Regions from separate parts of the Homo sapiens genome. Here regions 2 and 3 are each linked to region 1. Evidence: promoter capture Hi-C in human tissues and cell types (Jung and others, 2019). All regions are on one chromosome and are shown on one strand. The core of a region is centred on a gene start or on the middle of the fragment in contact, and the rest is flanking DNA. Distances in the headings are between cores, read along the strand shown.

Region 1 (3,643 bases), core at 772-3,271:
ATTTTAATGTAAATAATTGGTAAACAACTCAGAAACTCCTTCTTTTCCTTTAAAATTCACTTGTGGCCAGGCACAGTGCCTGTAATCCCAGCACTTTTGGAAACCAAGGCAGGTGGGAAGATTGCTTGAGCCCAGGAGTTCAAGACAAGTCTGGGCAACATAGTGAGGCCCCCAGTTCTACCAAAAAAAAAAAAAAAATTTAGCCATGGGTGATGGCACCTGTCTGTAGTCCCAGCTACTCGGGAGGCTGAGACAGGAGGATAGCTTCAGCCCAGGAGGTCAAGGTTGCAGCAAGCCATGATCATGCACTCCAGCCTGGGCAACAGAACACACACACACACACACAAGAATCTACTTGTAACTGCTACTAAGTGTATATTCAGAGCAACTTGAATATGTGCTCCCAAGTTGCAATCTCAAACTTAGACCAAATAAACTCTATACTTACATTAAGTTTGTCTCCGTTTTTTCCTTTAGGTTAACAATAATAAAAGTAAATCATTCTCTTTATAGAAAACTCAGCAGCATTTGAAGGAGAAAAAAAAAACACCAACTGCCCATAAAATTAAAAACCGAGAAATAACCACTCATAATACTTGGTATTTTCTTACTTTTTCTTTTTCTTTTTCTTTTCTTTTTTTTTTTTTTTTTGAGACAGGGTCTCACTCTGTCATCCAGATGGGAGGCAGCGGTGCGTTTTCGGCTCACTGCAATCTGTGTCTCCTGGGTTCAAGCGATTCTCCCGCCTCAGCCTCCCGAGTAGCTGGGACTACAGGCGCACGTTATCACTCCTGGCTAATTTTTGTATTTTTAGTAGAGATGGAGTTTCGCCATGTTGGCCAGGCTGGTCTTGAACTCCTGGCCTAAAGTGATCCACCCGCCTTGGGCTCCCAAAGTGCTGGGATTACAGGCGTGAGCCACCGCACCAGGCCTTTTCCATTCTTTTGTCCACAGTTTTGCAGTATTTTAAATTGTACTAGGGGGGAAAATCCCTATTTTAAAAGAATTCTACAGCTAATATTTTCATAAAGCAAAGTGAATTGCTTTATGAAAACAAAGCACTTCTATTCACTTTTGATAATTGAATAGCTGGTCACCTTTCATTTACTTGTCACATATCGGCATTTCTGTAAGCTGGATTTTTGAAAGCAGCCCAGTCTGAAGCAGGGATGTAATAAAAGGTTTTGGAATTAACCAAACTTGAATTTGAATTCTCATTATCCCTTTATTAGCTAAATGACACTAAACAAATTGTTAACTTTTCTGTACTTCAGTATAGAATTTTGAGTTGTTCGGAAGAAGAGCCAAGACCCTTACCTACCTACCTATCTGTCTATGTATCTATCCATCTATCCATCCCTGGTATACAGTAGGTGATCACTGAGGGCGGCATGACCTTATATCCTGTGTTCACTCACCCTCCACCCCACCACCACTCCTAGTCTTTAACACCACCCACAGGAAAACAGAGGATTTCACTAAGCACTATAGAGAACGTGTCCTTTTCTGGCTGGGCACGGTGGCTCATGCCTGTAATCCCAGCAATTTAGGAGGCCAAGGCAGGTGGATCACTTGAGGTCAGGAGTTCAAGAACAGCCTGGCCAACATGGTGAAACCCCGTCTCTACTAAAAATAAAGTCAGCCAGGTGTGGTGGCATGCACCTGTAATCCCAGCTACTTGAGAGGCTGAGGCAGGAGAATTGCTTGAACCTGGGAGGCAGAGGTTGCAGTGAACCGAGATTGCGTCACTGCACTCCAGCCTTTTTTTTTTTGAGACTCCATCTCAAAAAAAAAAAGAAAGAAAGAAAGAAAAAGAAAGTGTCCTTTTCTGTTTTGTGCACCACAAGAGTTTTCTCCCCAGGAGTGCAAATAGGATGCCAAAAATGGGGATAAAGGAAAAGATTAATAAGGTGGGCGGGCCAGCACTAGATGCCTCCACCCCGCCAACCCGCCCGCCTCTCTGCCCCACCCCAACCAGGTGTCAGCCCTAGTCATTCAGGAGATTATTGCAGAAGTTTCCAAACTGAAGCAAGCTGTGCCCAGGTCCCTGTAACAGCAGGTGGCTTTCTGACATCAGCAGAGACTGGTGCTTTTTCCCAGGTACAAAGGACCTCCAGACCAGAGCCAGCCAGCAGCAAAAAGAGCATGGAGCTGAGGAGTACAGCAGCCCCCAGAGCTGAGGGCTACAGCAACGTGGGCTTCCAGGTGAGCAGAGCTTTCCTCTTATGTTAAAGGCCTTCAGTGGAAAAGCTGCCCTTTCCTTAGCCCCTTGGCAAGTTTCTTACCTAAGCAGGGAGATTATCAGGACAATACGATTTTTAACGGCACACTTTAAGCCCATTATTTTTTCTTCTTGGGCTCTTCTGGGTTGACAAACCTGAAAAGTCTCTTTTAATCGATGTGTTGTGATCCCTATGGTCACTTAGAAACAAGACAGCCTTCTTCTCTTGCCTTTTTTCCCTTCTGGCTCACAGCAGGGGTCCATTATTTATCTTCAGGCACTTTTCCAAAGAACTGGTGAGAAGGGAAAAATGGGGGAATTTAGATCCTGGCTGGGGTAGTGTCTCAGGGTTCCTTTTACTCAAGCCAAGTCCTGGAGCCCCTGTCAGATGGCCCCGGTACCTGCCCCAGAGCAGCTGGATTACGCAAATCAGTCTCACTTCATCAACCAAAACTCACTGAGTGATTAATGCTGCTCAGCCCGAGGCTGGGTGCCCGCAGAGACATAGAAGGAGACCTGTCAGAAACACCAGGCTATTTTGACTGGGTCTGGGATGGGGATTTCCAGGGCTGTTTTTAGGTGTGCTTCCTTTCCTTAGCTGACACTCAGCATGGGCGCTCTGGAGAAGATGGGAAGCCTGCACCGGCAAGTGTCAACAATCCCTTGGACTTTACGGTCTGCTAGATGGGCAAAACAAAACTTTGAGGTGCTAGCCAAGAAAGGAAAGAGGGAGGTAAAAGGGCTTTGACAGGAGTTCAGACTCCAGCACCCACAAATTCCTGTAACTTCCCAGAGCCCAAGTTTGATCATCTGTCCCATGGTCACAGTGATGCCCATCTCCATGAGTAGGCATCGGGTTACCACTTATAGGTCACAAGTGTAGGAGAGGAAACAACTTCATCTACCCTCTTAGGTTGAGTGCCTGAGGCCTGCAAATTAAACCAACATAAAACAGATTAGCAGGAGAAAAGGCACGCAAATTTTATTCATATTTAAAATCTCACATGTGGCTGGCAGTGGTGCCTCATGCCTGTAATCCTAGCACTTTGGGAGGCTGAGGCGGGCTGATCATTTGAGGTCAGGAATTTGAGACCAGCCTGGCCAACATAGTGAAACCCCATCTCTACTAAAAATACAAAAATCAGCCGGGCATGGTGGTACATGCCTGTAGTCCCAGCTACTCGGGAGGCCGAGGCAGGAGAATCACTTGAATCTGGGAGGCAGAGGCTGCAGTGAGCCAAGATCGTGCCTCTGTACTCCAGCCTGGTTGACAGAGGGAGACTCAGTCTCAAAAAAATAATAATAATAAAATAAAATCTCACATGTATGAGAGCCTCACATAAAAGAAACGGAAAAACCTAATAGACTCAGGAGCTTATATACCATTAAAACAAAGCACGGCAAATAGTGAAATGACTAGAC
Region 2 (3,643 bases), core at 730-3,229, 460 kb before region 1:
AAGTCTTGTTCTAATTTTCAAGTGTCATAATTTCTAGGAATGCCAACCTGCATCTCTCATACCTGTTTTTCCCCTTGATTGATGTGAAGATGGAGAACAGCCACTGTGCTAAAGCCTGACCCACTGAGAGGCAGAAAGAAGAGTGGTTGAAAGAATGGGCCCTGAAGGTGGAATACCCAAATGACTGTGTGACCTTGGGCAAGTTGCCTCAGTTTTCTTGCCTATAAAATGGAGCTAATGATAATAGTTAATTTGGGGCTGATGTGCAGATTAAATAAGCATATATATATATATATATATATATATATAGCACTTAGAAGTGTCTGGCATATAGCAGGTGTTCAGTAAATATCAGCTGTTTCCATTATCTGCAGACCTAGGTCTCAGCTTTTGTCCTTGAAGTGGCAAATGCTTTATGTTCACAAAGAGTTGCAAATGAATGAAACAGATCTACTTTGTTAGGACACACTGGTCAACATACGCACCAAACGGAAAAGACAATTCAGGTTGAGATTGTAAATAAAAATAATCATCTGTGTCAGATAAGAAATAGGCTGTCTTATCACTGTATCCGGGAACTTTTGTGAAGAAAGGAAATTTGGAGACCCTATAGCCCATTTTCTTCAGTCAATATCACCCTTTCACTTAGGACATAAGGAAGGTAAGTTTCTGAGAGGTTAAGTAACTTGCTCCAGGGCACAGGGCCAGCCAAGGGCAGACTCAGGGCCCCTGTCATTGTGTCAGCAGCAGACTCAGTGCTAGAATGAAATACAATATGGTGAGACCATCTTTCATGACAGGCTAAAGCTGAAGACAGAAACAGAACCCATTGTTTTGATATGAAAATTAATACCCCTCCTATGGTCTGAATGTGTGTGTCCTCCTAAAATTCATATGCTGAAACCTAATTCCCAGTGTGATGATATTAACAGGTGGGGCATTTGGGAGGTATAATAACTAGGTCATGAGGGTGGAGCCCTCATGAATGAAATTAATGTCCTCACAAAAGAGGCCCAAGGGAGCTCATGCGCTCCTTCCACCAGATGAAGACACAATGAGAAGGTGCCATCTATGAACCAGAAAATGGGCCCTCACCTGACAATGAATCTGCTGGTGCCTTGATATCGGACTTCCCAGCCTCCAGGACTGTGAAAAATAAATTTCTGTTGTTTATCAACCACCCAGTCTGTGATACTTTGTTATAGCGGCAAGACTAAGACAGTCCCAATGGCTCATACCCAGGAGTCCTGAACACACTACTGCTACATTTTACTTTATATATTTTACTAATAGTAAATATTAATAGTAATTAGTAATTATTATAGTAATAATAATTATTACTATATTATATATATTATTATAGTATATATAATATATAATATATATATTATTATAGTATATATAATATATAATATATATATTATTATAGTATATATAATATATATTATATATATTATTATAGTATATATAATATATATTATAGTATATATAATATATAATATATATATTATTATAGTATATATAATATATATATTATAGTATATATAATATATAATATATAATATATATATTATTATAGTATATATAATATATAATATATAGTATATATATTATATATAATATATAGTATATATAGTATATATAATATATATAATATATAGTATATATAATATATATATTATATATACATTATTATAGTAATAATAATAGTAATTATTATGTTACTTTACTTAAACATTAAAGTAATTTCCACATGAAGAGAAGAGGGATCCAGTCACTGTGTTCAGCTTTCACGGAATCCCCCATAACTAGTTATGCAGGTATCACCAAACTTTTTCTGCAAAGGGACAAATAGTAAATAATTTTCAAATTTTCAGGTCATTCCATTTCTGCCACAACTGCTCATTCTGCCATTGTAGTATGAAAGCAACATAGACAACATGTGAGAAATGAGTCGGTGTGTTCCAGTAAAACTTAAATTTATGAAAAATAGATAGCAGGTGAGATCTGGCCCAGGGGCTGTAATTTGCTCACCTTTGGGTAATGCAACCACCTGCCTGATGCTCTCTTTATTTCTTTAATTTTTCCCATGTTAAGCTTCCTCCTTCAGTGAACATCGTACTGTTTCAATATACTTAACAGGGTATATTCAATATGCGGTAGAATCTAATTTATTAAGACTAGAAATAAAAGCCAGTGTGAATTTATGAAAGCTCTAAGTTAGGAAATATATTTAAAGAAATGCAGCTTTATTACTTTCATATATATAAAGGAATCAAAATTAAGCCAATAAAACATTTCCAGCATGTTTTGGCAAGTAGGGGGTAATTCAGCCTTACCCAAAAGAAAAAAATAATTTAAGATTATATGATTCATCAATTGTTTTCATGAGATTCCTTTGAAAATGCTTAAAAAGTTTGTTTCCTAAGATGGTGATATATGATTCCTACCACCCATCTTGTTTCCACTAGTCATTAATTTAGAAATTCCTTTGTTCATGAAAGATACCCTAATATTCCACCAACCCAATTCCTCACTAAATTAATGATCTGAATCAGCAAGAGTTTTTGAACTTTCAGAAAAGCTAAATAAATTGTAATCCTATGACATCATAGATTAATACCATCTTTTGAAATAGCTTTACTGCTCTCTGTCTAAGGACCTCTGTCTGACCTTTGGCAGATATTGTAGATTGGCTGTTCAAAATCCATTCACAAACCCCCTTTCCTTTGTCTTCCTCTACCCTGGATGGAAAGGATCCAATATACTTTTTCCCAGCACCTCTTGAAACTAAGTGTGGGCTCGTGACATAACTCTGGCCACTGAGATATAGCTAGAAGGTAAGGGGGAAGGATCTTCTAATCTTGAATTAAAAGAAAAAGCCTCCTTATCCTTCTTCATTCTTTCTAGTTGGGATATAGTTTTAAGGTCTTGAGGCAAAGCAGCCTTTTTGAGACCACTAGGTCACAAACAAGAGGAGAAGGCCTAGATGCTGAGGATAGCAGATATGAAAGGTGGAAAGAGCCAGAATGTCCCTGATAACATTAAGCCACCTTAATAACCCTGGATCCCAGAATTCTTGCTGTGCGAAAAAAACCTATCTGTTTAAGTGGTTGCTGTTTTTATTTGTTGGTTGCAGTAGCTAATGCAATCCCATGTGACACAATTCATGGAGGCCTTGGCGTCAGTTCTGTGAGATAGGGAGCAGGGATGTGGTCAACTATAAATTAAAGAATCTTAGCTACTACCAAAAAAAAAAAAAAGAAAAGTAATCAGCTTTGAAGTGACATTGTGACATCTATATAGCACCTGGAACTCTATGCAAGGTGCAAGGGTCCATATTACATACTTGCAGCCCAACAGAGCCATAGGAGAGCAGCCAAACCTCCCTTAAAGGGCCATGGCAGTGGCCAAGAGAGGGAGGATGTACTCAGGTGCATGAGCAAGGAGCCAAAATACTTTGGGGTCCGGGAGAGGAGAGCTCTGCACAGAGAAAAGCTATACTGTGAGCAGATACCTTAGTGAGTTAGACGCTGAGGATGAGGCACTGTGGGGGCCCGAACCCTCAGGCTAACTCCTGGGGTCAGTGAGAAACAATAGAACCCCCTTGACATTTGAAGATTGAGAGTTGAAGAGACCTGGG
Region 3 (3,643 bases), core at 833-3,332, 340 kb after region 1:
AATAGAAAGATTAATGCTATTCTCTGATGATCTTAAAGAACAACTCTGTAAATTACAATCATTTTCATTAGAAATTTGTGAATTCCTTTTCTGTACATAGTTGACCACCTCTCTATTTAATATTTTATTATTTAAGGAATGGCTATCTGAACTGCTGGTTTGTTTTATTTTATTATCTGTCTCTAAGTTCTTTTCTTTATTTGTAAAATCATGGGCTAAGGGTACATTACAATGAACTGAAAAAATACTCCTGTTTTGGTCTCTAACAGATGGACAACCAAATGATTTGTCTTCATTAGTCATTTGTTCAGATACATTTTTTTCACTCCAATTATTGTTTCCATTTTTGCAAGTCAAAGAAAAGTTATTCGTAGTATTAGGATTATGTGAAAATCTCTCTATACTTCGATCGGCATTTCTGTTAAAAGTCAATGGTTGCAATTCCTTAGTTTCCATCTGTTCTTTCTGGACAGTTTCTTCTAAAAGCAAGGCCTCCTCCAGTGAAAAGTCATCTAATTCTCCATCCATTACATGTATAGATAGGTTTGATGGTTCCTCTTTTGGTCTTGGAGAAATAACAAATTCTGGCTCAAAACTTGACTGTCTTGTGGGAATGGTATTTGAGGAACTACCTGTGGTGAAACATCGTTCTGAGGAAGTGTCATTATTTGCTGTAAGCTCATCATTTTCATCAAGACTTGCCAAGAGTTCTTCATCAGAAGGACCTAATGCAGGATCTAGAACATCTGTAACTCTGGGAATGTTTTCGTTAGAATTGTTTGGTATGACTGAAACTACAAGATCAGGTTCCCCTATTAATCTTGCAAGTACTTTTTCTTGGGCATATTCTTCTAAAAGAGCATCTACTTCACCTCCTAACACTTTCACGTTTTCTGGTTTCAATAAGAGAACACCAAGACGGAAAGATATATTTCCATAAATCAAAATTTTTGTACCTGGAGGAAGATCACTATGAAGAATTGGAATAGGCTGATATTCCATTCCCTGTATTTGTACGATTCCATCAGTTAGCTGCAGCATCAACATTCGTGAAGGCTTTGCTTCCCAAGGTTTTGGGGTTACTTGTGCTTCAGCTGTAACTAGATCATTTGTTGTATTCTTTCCTCTCAACTTCTGTATCTGGGAGTATGCAGGCTGACTTACATCAACCAAGGAATTAATCTGCAGAGCATAAAATCCATTTAATTCTCCTTTTGGAATTTCTAAAATGCCATCGGGTAAAAGAGGATGCTCCAAATCCCTCAGATCAGTAAGGAGCCACTGCTCAAACACTTGTTTATTCATTTGGGCCTGACTCAAGTTAACATTATTATTTTCTTCTTGAATCCAGTTAATACAAGCTTCCAGCCACATCGGAGGTACTTTAACATGCCATGCAGCTAAAAGCCAAGTTTCAGCTCTTAATGCAATACTAGTCACATTCATTTCTTTTAAATAAAAGAAATAATATGCATCTATTACCTGAAAACAAAAAACAAAAAAATTTAGATAATTCAGTATATTTGAATACAGCTTCTGTAATTCTCTACAATGCACAGACAGGCACACCCTTTAGATTTTTCACTCTTCAGCATCTTACATGGTCGAAATTGAAACACTACACATAATCAGATGGTAAAATGAGAAAATCAAAAGGTTTGAGACAGCTATACCTAGGTTTGAAAGCTGGCTCTGTCAAGTTACAAGATATGTGACCTAATATAAAATTCTCAACTTCTGTAACCAGTTTTTTCATCTATAAAATGTCAACACTACCATCTATCTTATAGGATTGTTAACAGGATCACATGAATTATATTTGTAAAGCATAATGTCAGACCTATAAAGGATATTCAGTAAACAGTAGTTACATTAGCCTCCCTTATCTATGGGGAATATGCTCCAATACCCCCAGTGGATGTCTGAAACTCTAAATATTATCAAACTTAATATATATTATTTTTTTAAATCCGATGACCAACCAGCTACTAAGTGACTAAAGGGTGGGTAGCATAAACAGCATAGATATGCTGGACAAAGGGATGATCCAAGTCCAGGGTATGATTTCATCACACTATTCGGAACAGCACTAAATTTAAAACTTATGAATTATTTCTGGAATTTTCTGCTAAATATTTTCAGACCTTGGTTGACTGCAGATAACTGAAACCACAGAAAGCAAAACCACGGAGAAAGGGAGACTACTGTATAATATATTATAATTGATCTAATAATCACATTCTAATCATTTAAAATTTAGTTAAGAAACAATGTTCACTAATGTTCTTTATGTATGTGCAATAGTTCTAATTTAACTCTATTAAAACATACCACTGTGTCTGTCCATTTAGTACTTGAATATGTGGTCTAAAGATAAAATTATAACAAATAACAGCAGACTCTGAGCTGATAGATGTAAAGCATCTTATTTGTTGGGCTAAATATTTTCAAAAGTCTGGCCAGGCAAATATATAAATATTTAACTTCTGATTTTCTCAGTATGATAAAGCAGTAGCAAAACAGTAAAGCCCAATCAATCATGTGTTCACAAAAGTATACTTTGTTCCTTCTACAGATGAAGATATTTATGAAGTAGAATATATTAAAGTTTTACTATGTCCATAAGAAAACTTACCACGAGGAACAGCAGCACAGGATTTGATGACAGAATTTGGAACTGGTTGTTAGTGGATTACTTGAAACCTCCACTGCTCAGAAATGGCCCTGGGAGATAAGACAAAAAGCAGTAAGAGTTATAAGATGAAGTTGTAGAAAGACAGGACTATTTTCTTAAGTGCAAGAGTTTGATGGTATGGTTCATGGGGATCAGAAACAAGAGACCATGAGAAAGTTACACATTCTCTCTAAGCCTGTTTCCTTTTCTATATACTTACCTCATAGGCTTACTGTGAAAATTAAAGAAGATAGGAGGTATAGTATTTGATGTTAAGAGTACATCTCTGGTGCTAGACTATATCATAAACTCTTACTTATAACCTCTGACTCTAAACAAGTTACTCAACTTCATGATATCCTACTTATCCTTATCTGATTTGTAAAACAAGAATAACAGGATTTTCCTCAGGCTTGTTATGAAGATTAGATTAATATGAAAAAAGCAGCACCTGGCACACAGCGAGAACTCAGTAAATGTATACTATTATTAGACTTACAGTGCCTACTACAGCAACTGGCAAAAAGCAGCCACTCAAAAACTATACTTATTGTTATTTTATTTTTTTTTATTTTATTTTATTCTATTCTATTTTATTCTATTTTATTTTACTTTTTTGAGACAGAGTCTTGCTCTGTCGCCCAGGGTGGACTGCAGTGGCGCAATCTCGGCTCACTGCAACCTCTGCCTCCCAGGTTCAATCGATTCTCCTGCCTCAGCATCCCCAGTAGCTGGGACTACAGGTGTGTGCCACCACACCTGGCTACTTTTTGTATTTTTAGTAGAGACAGGGTTTCGCCATGTTGGCCAGGCTGGTCTCAAATTCCTGACCTCAAGTGATCTGCCCACCTCAGCCTCCCAAAGTCCTGGGATTACAGGTGTGAGCAATCGCGCCCAGCCATTATTTTAGACTGAATGACCAATTCCTACATTGGATAAGTTCTACACTGCTCTGAAATTACTGAAATG

The links. The method cuts DNA at HindIII sites, captures the fragments that hold promoters and counts their contacts. A contact is called where the count stands out against the background at its distance.
Region 2: a fragment that was not itself captured here is called in contact with the fragment with the promoter of SLC28A3 in region 1 in 2 of the 25 tissues and cell types used here (dorsolateral prefrontal cortex and lymphoblastoid cells).
Region 3: a contact is called between a fragment that was not itself captured here and the fragment with the promoter of SLC28A3 in region 1, in 2 of the 25 tissues and cell types used here (aorta and stomach).

Annotation. Positions count from the first base shown.
Region 1 is chr9:84,339,136-84,342,778 of GRCh38, reverse strand. It overlaps SLC28A3 (solute carrier family 28 member 3), which reads left to right and starts at 2,021. Exons shown (of 18, transcript NM_001199633.2): 1 at 2,021-2,205. The coding sequence starts at 2,146. The HindIII fragment of the contact is 14,043 bases long and covers 1-3,643 here.
Region 2 is chr9:84,795,579-84,799,221 of GRCh38, reverse strand. All of the region lies in intron 12 of NTRK2 (neurotrophic receptor tyrosine kinase 2), which reads right to left. Among named protein-coding and RNA genes, the nearest start is that of NTRK2, 130 kb to the right of the region's middle. The HindIII fragment of the contact is 5,426 bases long and covers 1-3,643 here.
Region 3 is chr9:83,998,790-84,002,432 of GRCh38, reverse strand. It overlaps RMI1 (RecQ mediated genome instability 1), which reads right to left. Exons shown (of 3, transcript NM_001358291.2): 2 at 2,636-2,724; 3 at 1-1,482. The coding sequence starts at 1,446. Among named protein-coding and RNA genes, the nearest start is that of RMI1, 20 kb to the right of the region's middle. The HindIII fragment of the contact is 5,241 bases long and covers 1-3,643 here.